Regions from separate parts of the Homo sapiens genome. Here region 1 is linked to region 2. The links are contacts of gene promoters, found by promoter capture Hi-C in human tissues and cell types (Jung and others, 2019). All regions are on one chromosome and are shown on one strand. Each heading gives the region's core, a stretch centred on a gene start or on the middle of the fragment in contact. The rest is flanking DNA. Distances are from core to core; before and after follow the strand shown. Region 1 has its middle 44 kb from the start of CDC25A. Region 2 holds the start of CSPG5 (chondroitin sulfate proteoglycan 5).

Region 1 (7,231 bases), core at 4,150-6,649, 560 kb before region 2:
GATTCAAGCTATTCTCCTGCCTCAGCCTTCCGAGTAGCTGGGATTACAGGCATGCGCCACCATGCCCAGCTAATTTTTGTATTTTTAGTAAAGACGGGGTTTCACTATGTTGGCTAGGATGGTCTCAATCTCTTGACTGCATGATCTGCCTGCCTCAGCCTCCCAAAGTACTGGGATTACAGGCGTGAGCCACCGCACCTGGCAAGAAAGGAACTTTTTAAAGAAAGAATACCTGATGAACACCTTAAATCCCCAAAATCAAGAAATCCCATGAATCCCAAGCAGAGTAAATAAGAAATCCACATTTGGGTATGTAACGAGGACAGAATACCAAAGACACAGGATACCAAAGTGCATGCTGAATAGAAAGCCAGAGGACCAACACAGAGACAACACGTAGCTGCTGCTCAGCAGCAACAGTGGAAGACTACGGCAACATGGAAATACTGCAAGCCTCGCTGTACTCTCACCCTTCCTAATCCCATGTCCTCTGAAAAGATAGCCCCTATTAAGTTAGGGGTGTACCTTCTAGACCTTTTCTATGCATGTATAAATATACATAATGTATATGGATATGGATGTGTGCATCTATATTTATGTTTATTATTATTATTATTTTTTTTTGAGACAGAGTCTGACTCTGTCGCCCAGGCTGGAGTGCAGTGGCGTGATCTTGGCTCGCTGCAAGCTCAGCCTCCCGGGTTCACGCCATTCTCCTGCCTCAGCCTCTCCAAGTAGCTGGGACTACAGGCACCCGCCACCACGCCTGGCTAATTTTTTGTATTTTTAGTAGAGATGGGGTTTCATCGTGATCTCAATCTCCTGACCTCGTGATCCGCCCGCCTCGGCCTCTCAAAGTGCTGGGATTACAAGCGTGAGCCACAGTGCCCGGTCTATTATTTTTTTTTTTTTTTAGAGATGGAGTCTCACTATGTTGCCCAGGCTGGTCTCAAATTCCCAGACTTAAGACACCCCTCTGCCTTAGCCTCCCTAATAGCTGGGACTACAGGCACACCCTAGGGTGTCCTGGCCTTTATCTATATTTAGGTATTGGTATGGTTTGAATTCTTGTCCCCTCTGAAACTCATGAGATTTAATTGACATGAAGCCTTTAGGAGGTGATTAGGTCATGATGACTCTGCCTTCATGAATGGATTAATGCTCTTATCATGGGAGTGGGTTAGTTATCTCGAGACTGGGTTTGTTCTCAAAGCGAGTTTAGCTGATTTCTTCTGTCTTCTGCACTTGCTTCCATCTTCTGCCATTCTCCCATGAGATGACCATCTCCAAGGTGCTGGCGCCATGCTCTTAACCTTCCCAGCCTCAGGAGGTGTAAGAAATAAATTTCTTTTCTTTCTTTCTTTCTTTCTTTCTTTTTTTTTTTTTTTTGAGACATAGTCTCGCTCTGTCACCCAGGCTGGAGTGCAGTGGCGCGATCTCAGCTCACCGCAACCTCTGCCTCCCGGGTTCACGCCATTCTCCTGCCTCGGCCTCCTGAGGAGCTGAGGCTGCCACCACACCCGGCTAATCTGTTGTATTTTTAGTAGAGATGGGGTTTCACCATGTTAGCCAGGATGGCCTCGATCTCCTGACCTCATGATCTGCCCGCCTCAGCCTCTCAAAGTGCTGGGAACAGGCATGAGCCACCGCGCCTGGCCAATAAATTTCTTTTCTTTATAGTCTTGGCTGGGCACAGTGGCTCACGCCTGTAATCCCAGCACTTTGGGAGGTCGAGGTGAGTGGATCACCTGAGGTCAGGAGTTCGAGACCAGCCTGGCCAATATGGCAAAACCCCCATCTCTACTGAAAAAAAAAAAAAAAAAAAAAGGCCAGGTGGCGGCTCACACCTGTAATCCCAGCACTTTGGGAGGCCGAGGCTGGCGGATCACCTGAGGTCAGGAGTTCAAGACCAGCTTGGCCAGCATGGTGAAACCCCATCTCTACTAAAAATACAACAATTAGCCGGACGTGGTGGCGGGCACCTGTAATCCCAGCTACTGGGGAGGCTGAGACAGGAGAATCCCTTGAACCTGGGAGGCGGAGGTTGCAGTGAGCCGAGATCGTGCCATTGCACTCCAGCCTGAGCAACAAAAAGCGAAATCCCATCTAAAAAAAAAATGGCAAAACCCCATCTCTAGTAAAAATACAAAAATTAGCCAGGTATGGTGGCAGGCGCCTGTAATCCCAGCTACTTGGGAAGCTAAGGCAGGAGAATCACTTGAACCCGGAGGGGGTGGGTGGAGTGAGCCAAGATCACACCATTGCACTCCAGCCTGGGCGACAGAGTGAGACTCCATCTCAAAAAAAAAAAAAATTACAGTCTCATGCTTGAGGGGATGGGCACTCTATTCCCCATGATGCACTTATTTCACATTGCATGCCTGTATCAAAACACTTCATGTACCTTGTAAATATATACACCTACTATGTACCCACAAAAAAATTGAAAATTTAAATAAATAAATAAATAAATTATAGTCTCAGCTGGGTGTGGTGGCTCACACCTGTAATCCCAGTGCTTTGGGAGGCTGAGGCAGGACGATTGCTTGAGCCCAGGATTTCAAGAGCAGCCTGAGCAACATAGTGAGACCCCTGTCTCTATTTTAAATAAATGTAAATAAATTACAGTCTCATGTATTCTGTTATAGCAGCATAAAACATATGTTAGAGGCCGGGCGCGGTGGCCTACGCCTGTAATCCCAGCACTTTGGGAGGCCAAAGCAGGTGGATCACGAGGTCAGGAGATTGAGACCATGCTGGCTAACACAGTGAAATCCCATCTCTCCTAAAAGTACAAAAAATTAGCTGGGCGTGGTGGCGGGCACCTGTAGTCCCAGCTACTCAGAGGCTGAGGCAGGAGAATGGCATGAACCCGGGAGGCAGAGCTTGCAGTGACCTTAGATCACTCCACTGCACTCCAGCCTGGGCTACAGAGCGAGACTCCATCTCAAAGAAAAAAGAAAAAAAAAAAACATATGTTAGAATAACTTAGATATATTTGAATAATACAGTTGTCCCTTGGTATCTGTGGGGAGTTGGTTCCAGGACCCCCACTGATATCAAAATCCAAAGACGCTCAAATCGCTTATATAAATGGCATGATATGGCCAGGCACGGTGGCTCACACCTGTAATCCTAGCTCTTTGGGAGGCCAAGGCAGGAGAATCACTTGAGGCCAAGAGTTCAAGACCAGTCTGGGCAATATGGCGAAACCCTGTCTCTGCTAAAAATACAAAAAATTAGCTGGGTGTGGTGGTACACACCTGTAGTTAAACAATTTTCACCTGTTCTCTTTATTGCAGGGTTTCTCAGAGCGCTTGGCCTGCCAGCATGCATCATGAATTTCAAGAGACGACAGAGCATTTTCCAAACCTATTTGCCCATGGAGACTTTTCTCCATGGAGTATCTCATTGGACTTAAGTTCCTGAGGACTAACTTTGGGGATGCTGTTTTCTCTTCTATGTGGCCATTTTCATTTGATTCTCACAGGATGGAATTCACCCTCATTTTATGGATGCAAACACTCATACTCATGGAGGTGGGTGAGTTGCTTCCGGTACTCAGTTAACAAACAGCAGAGACGGAAGTAGATGTTTGGGCTTCAGGTTCTAAGGCCAGACTCTTTGTTTTTCTTTTCTTTCTTTCTTTCTTTCTTTCTTTTTTTTTTTTTTTTTTGAGACTCACTCTGTCACCCAGGCTGGAGTGCAGTGGTGCAATCTCGGCTCACTGCAACCTCCACCTCCCAGGTTCAAGCGATTTTCCTGCCTCAGCCTCCTGCGTAGCTAGGATTACAGGGATGCGCCACCATGCCCGGCTAATTTTGTATTTTTAGTAGAGATGGGGTTTCTCCATGTTGGTCAGGCTGGTCTCGAACTCCTGACCTCAGGTGATTTGACCTCCTCGGCCTCCCAAAGTGCTGGGATTACAGGCGTGAGCCACCGCGTCTGGTGGCCTAGACTCTTTCTTGACTTTCTCCCACTTTCAAGTCACCTTCTCAAGAGATGGGCTGCTGAGCTTGCTTCTCAGGGAGGTGGAGAGTAGGCTGACTGGTGGGAAGTTGGAAGGGGAAATTTCAGGAAGCCACCGAGCGCGAGCTTCAGAGTTAGTGATAGGGACAGAGCTCTGTGTTGGACTTTCCAGGCCTTAGCCTGGTAACTCCTGCTGCCACCAAACATGAAGCCTCTGCTCTGGCCCCACCTACCTCACTGACAAGCCCTGCCTCTGGCTGCAGAATGGTGAGTGAGACAGGGAAATTGTGGGATAGGTGGAGTTTCCAGGAATACTGGGGTGAGGAAACACCCCCAGGCCTGAGCCCCGATGGAAAGAGCCCCACAGGAGTGGGTCTGGAGGGAAGAAAATCCTTGAAGGCCTGAGCCATTGTCTCCTTTCTGCAGGACACTGGGTCCACCCCACCAAGGAACTCAGTGGTCCCTGAACAAATGGGAGATTATTTTCAGGGTCCTTTATAGCATTCTTTGGCTATTTTTGTCTTCTCTTTTTGTTAAAAGTACATTCACACAGGACATTTCCTTCCTCTAACACAAAGCAGCACAGAATGGTGGGAAGGGTGCTGGCTTGGCATCGGCCGCCTTGCAGAGCACTGGGACAGGTTGCTCACCTCTGGCCTTCAGTTCCAAATTTGGGCTTCAATTTACTGAGTCCAGAAGCAATCTCTTGGTGACACCAACATTAAATTTCTTCTTCTTTCTTTCTTTTTTTTTTTTTGAGACGGAGTTTTGCTCTTGTCACCCAGGCTGGAGTGCAGTGGTGCGGTCTCAGTTCACTGTAACCTCTGCCTCCCAGATTCAAGCGATTCTTCTTGCCTCAGCCTCCCGAGTAGCTGGAATTACAGCCATGGGCCACCACGCCCAGCTAATTTTTGTATTTTTAGTAGAGACTAAAGGTGATCCACCCTCCTCGTCCTCCCAAAATGCTGGGATTACAGGCATGAGCCACCGCGCCGGCCCAACATTGAATTTCTATGAGACTTAATTTCTGGCTGGGCGCAGTGGCTTACACTTGTAATCCCAGCACTTTGGGAGGCCGAGGCAGGTGGATCACTTGAGGCCAGGAGCTCGAGACCAGTCTGGCCAACATGGCGAAACCCTGTCTCTACTAAAAAATACAAAAATTAGCTAGGCGTGGTGCTGGGCGCCTGAAATCCCAGCTACTCAGGAGGCTGAGGCAGGAGAATCGCTTAAACGCCGGAGGTGGAGGTTGCAGTGAGTCGAGATGGTGCCACTGCACTCCAGCCTGGGCGATGGAGTGAGACTGTCAAAAAAAAGAAAGAAAGAAAGAAAGACTTAATGTACTAATTTATGGCAGGAAGACCCTGCTTTCCCTCTCCTTCCTGACCTCATGATGGGTCCTGAACCAATAGTTGAGAATAAAGGAAGAGATTGGGGCCACTTGATCTAAGTTTGATGAGTGAGAGAAATTGTTCCCACATCTGGGCAGAGGGCACCTCCTGGGTACTCAGGTTCTTGGGCATCATGTCTCTCCCTCGATCCAGCTGGCCATGCACAGGCATTTTTGTTCTCCTGAGCCCTGGTTCTAGATGGGTTAATGCTGTGATTCAGCTGCAGTCTAGTCTCAGCGCTCCTGAGCTTGGGAGACACCCTGTCTCTCCCCTGCTCCCCACCCCACGCCTATGCTGCACCTCGAGGGCAAGGGTAGCAGGGCCGATGGAAGCTGAGGCACCTCACCTGCCTGGCATTTGCCAGTGCCCAAACAGCTGGGTGTGCAGGAGGAAGAATGAGGAGCCTTGGCAGCTGCCAAGCTACCCAGCGGGGGAGGGAAGGTGGCCAGGTGCGGCTGAAACAGGGTGCGGTGACTGGTCTGGGAGCTCCGAGGCCTGCCCAGACATCTGGCTGGGTCAGGAGGGCCAGGTGTGCTAAGAAGTGTGGGCTGCCCCAAAGCACAGGCTACTGAGCACCTCATGAGTGTAAGATTTGGTGAGCGCCTGAGCGGAGGAGGGGATGGGTGGATGGAAACTTCAGATTCATTATCTGTAAAGTGTGGATAAATAGCAGGGTGGTTTGAAAATTAAATGACTTAGACCAGCCTGTCCAATATGGTGAAACCCCATCTCTACTAAACATATAAAAATAAGCTGGGCGTGGTGGCATATTCCTGTAATCCCAGCTACTTGGGAGGCTGAGGCAGAAGAATCGGTTGAACCCGGGAGGCGGAGGTTGCAGTGAGCTGAGATCGTGCCACTGCACTCCAGCCTGGGCGACAAAGCGAGACTCTGTCTGGAAGGAAGGAAGGAAGGAAGGAAGGAAGGAAGGAAGGAAGGAAAGGAAATTAAATGACTTAATACATATAGGGTACGTAGCACAGTTCCAGTAAGTTCTCAAAAGTCCCAGGTATGATTATGATGAGTCCAGCACATAGGGTTGGGCAGGTTCAGTGTCTGATTCATCTGTTATCCTCTGTGTAACTACAAAAACAACAGACAAAATCAAGACAGCAGCAAAAGTCATCTCCCTCGAGTCCTCGTGAAACCCTATGAGGCAGATACCATTATTGAGCCCATTTTCCAGATGGACAGACAGGCATGGTGAGGCCACCATAATCAGCTAAGGCTAAGCCATGAAGCAGCTGTCCCCACAGAGGGCCTGCCCCATACTCTGGCTGAGGCGAAGGTCGTTCCTCCACCCTCTCCCACTGCCCACCACCCGGTCAGAGAAGCCTGCTGAGGCAGATGAGGAAACAAGGAACCAAGAGGTGACAGGCAGAGCCAGGAGCAGGTATTCTTCCCTCTGAGTGGCCTCTCCAAGCAGCCTCCACCAGACCCTGCCCTCATTCCTGAGCTCATCTCCCACTCTACCCCTCCACTTCTCCCTCTCTTCCTAGTTGGGTCATCTAGGCCTCTTGCCCTCCAGGAAGTCTTCCCTCAGCAGCCTGCCTGTCGGGGGAGTGCTCTATGGAGCACTCTCACCCTGGGTATCACTATGGAAGTGAGTGAATGGAGCCCCTTCCTTTTCCACATGATTTTGGTGAACCACAGACAGCCTGGGAGATACTCCCCAAAGGTGCTGGCCAAAGCCAAGAGACAACTAAAATAACTATTAATATTTACAGAAAACTTCATCCAACAGTTTTTTTGTTTTTTTCATATGGGGTGTCACACTGTTGCCCAGGCTGGCGTGCAGTGGCATGATCTCACTGCAGCCTCAACTTCCCCAAACTCAGGCAATCCTCCCACCTCAGCCTCCCACAGTGCTG
Region 2 (6,930 bases), core at 399-2,898:
GAGGCAGTTAAGGGTGCGTTGCTGCCTCTGTGGCTGAGGTGAGTGCAAAGCCCTACATGGTCCCCTGTTTAGAGAAGGCTATTGTTTCAAACATATTTTACTTGGTCCCCGGAGGCAGCATGAAACTATGAAAGAAAGAGCCTTACCCCTTTTTTCAAGGCTCTCCAGACCACAGTTCTGGGATGGGTGTGGGTGGTTGCCATTCGTTCATTTATGCCTGTCTGATATGGAGCCTCCCTCTGTTACCAGCCCTGTGCACTCAAGTGCCTTGCAGTCCAGTGAGGAATAACTGTAGATAAGATGAGATGATGGGCATTAAGTGTAACTGCTGAGAAGCCTTCATAGAGGGAAAGGTGATAAGAACTGAGTTTTTCTGGCATGAGGAGTTTACCAGGCAGGAGAGGTGGAGACGCTAGGCTAGGCAAATAGGCTGCAGCCATAGTTCTGCTGAGAAACAGGTTTTGAACCAAGGCAACTCCATCTGGAGATATGTATCAGAAAGATTAGGAGATAGAATCTCCATCTTGGTCACTTATTTGGTCTTCTAAGACAGCAATGGGACCGTCTCTTAAATACTGGAGTTGTCCTATCTCCTTGGGCTGATACCCTGAACTGTCATTTGGGTGAGTAACACATTAAGGGGTAGACGGTCGGTTTGGGGGAATAAACTAAGTAACTAGGTTGCGGTTCCTCCTGCCGACTAAGCAGACCTCCTGGTGCGTGGTCTTGGGTTGCCCTGTGAGCCCTGAAGCTGTGAATGGGCCCCACAGATCACTCTAAAGCCAAGCATCCATGTGTGCCCGGCTGGGGATCTAGACCCCCCTGGTCTACCCAGGAACCTGAGTTTTGGTGGTCTGAGACACCTGGGGGACGACGTATCCCGGAGAAGGGACCAGGATTAAAGGCCGCTCCCCAGGCTGCCCGGAGACTAGAAGGAAGGCGAGGTAGCCGCAGTCCCAGGGAGGGTCTTACCCCTTGCTCCCGGGATGCGTTATGGCGGGCCTGGCTGTGCGAGATCTAGGCTAGTGGCTTTGGCTGCGAACGGATTAGATCTGATCCGATTAGAGCCTGGGCGGTCGGCTTCGCCCCCTTGCCAGGCTCTGCCAACGCCCGCCCCTCCCTCGTGGAGACCCGGAGACCTCCCTGAGAGCCTTCCCGCCCGGAACACGGGATTGGTGCAGAATCCGAGAGGCTCCATGCGCCCCGGGCCTGGCTTGTTTCCACAGTGGGGGCTCGTGCTTCCGCCCCCTGCGGCTCTTCTGGACCCCGCCCCGACCCTGCGGGTAACTGGGCCCGCGACGTCCCCGCCTCCGTGCTTGCCGCGTGGCGGGTGGGTTCCTCCGGGTCGGGGCCCCGTGCCGCCTGTTCACCTGGGGCGGGACCGTGGCCCCATCCCACAGGTCTCCCGCCCGTGCACCTGCCGCCTAACGCCGCGCGCCGCGCCGTGCGCCTGCCTCGCGCTCCCCGTCCGCCTGCCCCGCACTCCCCGTCCGTGTGTCTCCTAGTCCCCAGCGAGGGGTCTGTCTGTTCCCCTGGCAGGCTGACCAAGGGGCCGGCGTCACCGCTACGTGCGGCGGGGCCGGCGCGGCGGGCGGGGTGAGGGCGGCGCTGAGCGCAGCGGCGGCAGCGGCGGCGCGGGAGGCGGGGAGGCGCGGCGCGCCGGGGACAGCGGCGGACGGCGGCGGCGGCGGCATGCGGCTCCTCGCGCTGCCCATCGTGGGCTGAGGCGGCCGCAGAACCGGCGGGAGGCGCGGCGGCCGGGCGAGCCGAGGGCGCAGCCAGCCGGGCGGACCGCGGACAGCGGTCGGGGCGCCGCGCCATGGGGCGAGCCGGGGGCGGGGGCCCGGGCCGGGGGCCGCCGCCACTGCTGCTGTTTCTGGGGGCCGCGCTGGTCCTGGCCTCTGGGGCCGTGCCGGGTAGGTATGACTGCGCCCGGGACCCCCGCGGCCCTCGTGCCCCACCCAGGGCAGGGGTCCCGCTGGCGGCGGGGACAGGTGGAGCTGTGAGCTGTGGCAAGGGGGCGGGGCACCGCCTGGCCGCGGCCGGGCGGCGGAATGGTCCCAGGAGGTGGTGGGGGTCCGGGAAAGGCCGACCCGCGTGGGGGCCGACCCCGGTTGGGGTAGCCGGGACCCAAGCGCGCGGGCCGCGGTGCGGACTGGGGGCGGGGCCGGGGGCGGGGCCGGGGCGGGGCCGGGGCGGGGCCTGAGGGTGAGACTTCGGGGCGGGACCTGGAGCTGAGGGCGGGAGCCAGTGGACGCGGCTCAGGGTGGGTTCCCGAGGGTGAGACTTATGGGTGGGCCGAGCTGGGGGCCGCCCTGGCCTGGCTCTTCAGACGGCGGGGCAGGTCGGGCGGGGCCGAGCCGCGAGGCGTTGGGCGGGGTGTGATCCTCGTCTTGGGGGCAGACTCCGGGACGGGGCTTAGAGGTACCGGGTGGCTGGGGTCACACTGGGGCGGTGGGGTCTGAGGGTGGCGAGGTCTGGGTTGACCAGGTCTAGGCGAGCGGGCCTGACCGGGGCGGGCCGGGGCTCCAGGGCTCCTCAGCGCGCCGCCCTGACGTCCCGCCCCTTGCCCTCCCGCCCGCAGCGCGTGAGGCGGGCAGCGCGGTTGAGGCCGAAGAGCTGGTGAAGGGCAGCCCGGCGTGGGAGCCGCCTGCCAACGACACGCGGGAAGAAGCCGGCCCACCAGCGGCTGGGGAAGATGAGGCGTCGTGGACGGCGCCCGGTGGCGAGCTGGCCGGGCCAGAAGAGGTGCTGCAGGAGTCGGCTGCGGTGACCGGCACCGCCTGGCTGGAAGCTGACAGCCCAGGCCTGGGAGGAGTGACCGCAGAGGCGGGCAGCGGCGATGCCCAGGCCCTTCCAGCTACGCTCCAGGCTCCCCACGAGGTCCTCGGGCAGTCAATCATGCCCCCTGCCATTCCTGAGGCTACAGAGGCCAGCGGGCCACCCTCCCCCACCCCCGGCGACAAGCTGAGCCCAGCTTCTGAACTCCCCAAGGAGAGCCCCTTGGAGGTTTGGCTGAACCTGGGGGGCAGCACACCCGACCCTCAAGGGCCAGAGCTGACTTACCCATTTCAGGGCACCCTGGAGCCCCAACCGGCATCAGATATCATTGACATCGACTACTTCGAAGGACTGGATGGTGAGGGTCGTGGCGCAGATCTGGGGAGCTTCCCAGGGTCACCAGGAACCTCAGAGAACCACCCTGATACTGAGGGAGAGACCCCTTCCTGGAGCCTGCTTGACTTATACGATGATTTCACCCCCTTCGATGAATCTGATTTCTACCCCACCACATCCTTTTATGATGACTTGGATGAAGAGGAGGAGGAAGAGGAGGATGACAAAGATGCAGTAGGAGGTGGAGACCTAGAAGATGAAAATGAGCTTCTAGTGCCCACTGGGAAGCCTGGTCTGGGGCCCGGGACAGGCCAGCCCACCAGTCGGTGGCATGCTGTCCCTCCACAGCACACTCTGGGGTCGGTCCCCGGCAGCAGCATCGCCCTCAGGCCCCGCCCAGGAGAGCCAGGCAGGGACTTGGCCTCCAGTGAAAATGGCACTGAGTGCCGCAGTGGCTTTGTGCGGCATAACGGCTCCTGCCGGTCAGTGTGCGACCTCTTCCCAAGTTACTGTCACAATGGCGGCCAGTGCTACCTGGTGGAGAACATAGGGGCCTTCTGCAGGTAAGGGCATGGCAGGCAGGTGCATAGGGACACTGAAGAGTGTATGTGAGGCCGACTCAACAGAGGGCAGCGTAGCCGGGCGCGTTGGCTCACGCCTGTAATCCCAGCACTTTGGGAGGCTGAGGCAGGCGGATCTCCTAAGGTCAGGAGTTCAAGACCAGCCTGGCCAAGTTGGTGAAACCCCATCTCTACTAAAAATACAAAAAATTAGCTGGGCGCGGTGGCAGGCACCTGTAGTCCCAGCTACTCAGGAGGCTGAGGAAGGAGAATCATTTGAACCCGGAGGGTGGAGGTTGCAGTGAGCCAAGATCGTGCCACTGCCCTCCAGCCTGGGTGACAAAGTGAAACTCCATCTCAAAAAAAAAAAAAAACAAAACAAAACAGAGGGCAGCGTGACAGGCACAACTTGCAAGAGGTTGTACAGTCGCAGGATTCCCAGGTGGAGAAATGTTCACTCAGGCTTCTTCTACAGAATTACTTGGTAAAATGCACTTCCTGTGACCTTATCACTAGGAGAGGTTCCTCAGAAATAAGATTATGTCTTTCCTCTGTGTGTTGTGTCCTTACCCAAACCCTCAATTACAAAGGCAAAATGAGGCCGGGCGTGGTGGCTCACGCCTGTAATCCCAGCACTTTGGGAGGCCGAGGTGGGCACATCACCTGAGGTTGGGAGTTCGAGACCAGCCTGACCAACATGGAGAAACCCTGTCTCTACTAAAAACATAAAAAATTTAGCCGGGTGTGGTGGCACATGCCTGTAATCCCAGCTACTCGGGAGGCTGAGGCAGAATTGCTTGAACCCAGGAGGTGGACGTTGCAGTGAGCCGAGATCACGCCATTGCACTCTAGCCTGGGCAGCAAGAGCGAAACTCTGTCTCAAAAAAAAAAAAAAAAAAAAAAAAAGGCAAAATGAAGGGAATTCTTTAAGAGTTTTGGAAAAAGGGCTGGGTTGAGGGGTGTTTGCTGGAGGGTTCTGGTGGTACTGGTGAGAGGGGTAGGCCCATAAACCTACTCTGTGGGATAAAGACAGCTGTTGAACACCGCTCCATGCCTTGTGCTCGGCGGGAGGAGGGGCCAGTTCCCTGGAAGGAATGTAGGCACGCAAACTCAAAAGGGAGGACCTTCTTGGAAACAGACCCCAAAATGCAGCCACTCACACAGATAAAATCAAGCTGAGAGTCTTCGCATTGCAGATGTGCGGGTGTTTCTTGACTTTGGGAGGTGGCTTTTTTCTTTCTACTTTGATGTTTGTCTACCTTGGGATATCAAATCCATAATCCTTTTAAAGACTCAGAGTTTAGTTTTCCTAAGGGCATTGTCTGTAGCTCATCAGTAATTACCCTACTCACCTCACTCTTAGGAACTGTCCTCACAGTGAGGTATTTAACTTGCTGGAGAGCTTGCAGCCTGATTCCGGAAGAATCCCAGGGTGGGGTGATCAGGTGGTTTGCTTGTCTCCATCCTTTACAGGCTGTAGAAATGGAGGAGAGCCCTCAGACTCCTTTGAGGGTTGTCTCCATTAGTCCTAGATGGAGCATTTCTGTCATCTGTGTGTCTCTTTTTATTTTTAGTAGAGATGGGGTTTCACCATATTGGCCAGGCTGGTCTCAAACTCCTGACCTCAAGTGATCCGCCCACCTCAGCCTCTCAAAGTGCTGGGATTACAGGCGTGAGCCACCACGCCCGGCCAGGGTATCTCTTTTTCAAGTGTCATTCTCCATCCTTCTTGTTCTTGTTCGTTCTGCAAGTATATGATGAATTCAAGTTCCTTAGGTCTTGATGTAGTATATCAGAGAATAACATGTAGAAAGCAATGAGTATTTTGTCCTTGGCGTTGTAACTTAAGTTCCAGTTTCTTTCTATGAAGTTCTTTTTTTTGTTGTTGTTGTTTTTAGAGACGGAGTCTCACTCTGTCGTCCAGGCTGGAGTGCAGTGGTGCAATCTCGACTCACTATAAGCTCCGCCTCCCAGGTTCATGCCATTCTCCTGCCTCAGCCTCCGGAGTAGCTGGGACTGCAGGCGCCCGCCACCACGCCCAGCTAATTTTTTGTATTTTTAGTAAAGACGGGATTTCACTGTGTTAGCCAGGATGGTTTCAATCTCCTGACCTCATGATCTGCCCTCCTTGGCCTCCCAAAGTGGTGGGATTACAGGCGTGAGCCACCGCGCCCAGCCGAAGTTCTTTATTATAAATGGTCATGACATTAGGGTCACTCATAGGATGTGACCACACAGTTCTTGGAGTGGTCCAGCCATTGCCAGAAGGAGGTACTATGATTAAGAAATTGTAGCAATTTTATTTTTAAAAAGAAAATATGGCAATAAACTAACTTGCCAGTTGATTAAGGGCTACCAGAAATATGAGGAAACCCTGTGATTTTGCTCCTCAAAATTCAGTTTGGGGGACTATAGTGATGATTTCAGCCTGGGGGCTGTGCAACCTCTCTGCAAAATCATCATCTTTCATCCTATTGGAGGCCTGGAATTTTCACCTTCAAAGTGAACTCCCCATAATAGTATGAAATTTGGAGCCCTTGCTGCCTCTAGAGAGCTGTAAAAGTCCCCAGAATCTCCTGGAACTCTCAGAAAATTCCCAAGTGGAAGAATAAGATTGTCTTCCTCAGTAAGCTACATGGCTCTGCCAGCATGGGTCTACCAGCCTCTCACTGCCTCACAAGGGCTTCTCCACGTGTCCACTCCAGTTCCCCTTGCTTAGCTTCCATCCCAGGATCACATTCGGGCCTCCCTACCAGATTCCTCCCCTGGCTGTGTACACCCAGGCCTGGCCACGGCTTGAAAACTATTTTTGCATTCCACTCACAGGAGACTGCTGAGCCGTTGGTTGCAGACTGCAGTGTGCCTTTGTCTCTGTCACCCTGACCCACTGCAGGGAAATGAGCAGAGCTGTGGCGGAACTTCTCTAGAACACCGGGGTAGAGGCCCCACTTACAGGGGTCTGCATTCCCTGGCAACCTCAAACAGATAGCCTCCCCATGACGGCAGAGGCTCAGTTGGAAAATGAAGAATTTCTTGCTAGCCATGTCTCCCCACCCTATTCTAGATGTGGAGTAGCCAGTTTTCTGGTGCATAATTTCCCCGTTTCTGGAGCCCTTTCTCTTGTCTGTCATTCACCCTGAGGTTCATGTCCTCCCTCCTTTGCCTGCCTCTGTATCCTTCCACATCTTTCCTCTTTGAAGCAGCCTGGTTCCCATGGAAACAGCAATGTCATTGGAAGAGTTGGAGCCTGGGA

Evidence for each region. Contacts are between HindIII fragments. The study calls those that stand out against the background at their distance.
Region 1: a fragment that was not itself captured here is called in contact with the fragment with the promoter of CSPG5 in region 2 in 1 of the 25 tissues and cell types used here (bladder).

Annotation. Positions count from the first base shown.
Region 1 is chr3:48,141,103-48,148,333 of GRCh38, reverse strand. No RefSeq gene overlaps it. Among named protein-coding and RNA genes, the nearest start is that of CDC25A, 44 kb to the left of the region's middle. RefSeq lists a silencer at 1-3. The HindIII fragment of the contact is 7,474 bases long and covers 1,663-7,231 here.
Region 2 is chr3:47,573,583-47,580,512 of GRCh38, reverse strand. CSPG5 (chondroitin sulfate proteoglycan 5) reads left to right here and starts at 1,648. Exons shown (of 5, transcript NM_006574.4): 1 at 1,648-1,916; 2 at 2,585-3,680. The coding sequence starts at 1,820. RefSeq lists an enhancer at 319-1,023 and silencers at 2,148-2,197, 2,238-2,297, 2,348-2,437, 4,040-4,334. The HindIII fragment of the contact is 21,614 bases long and covers 1-6,930 here.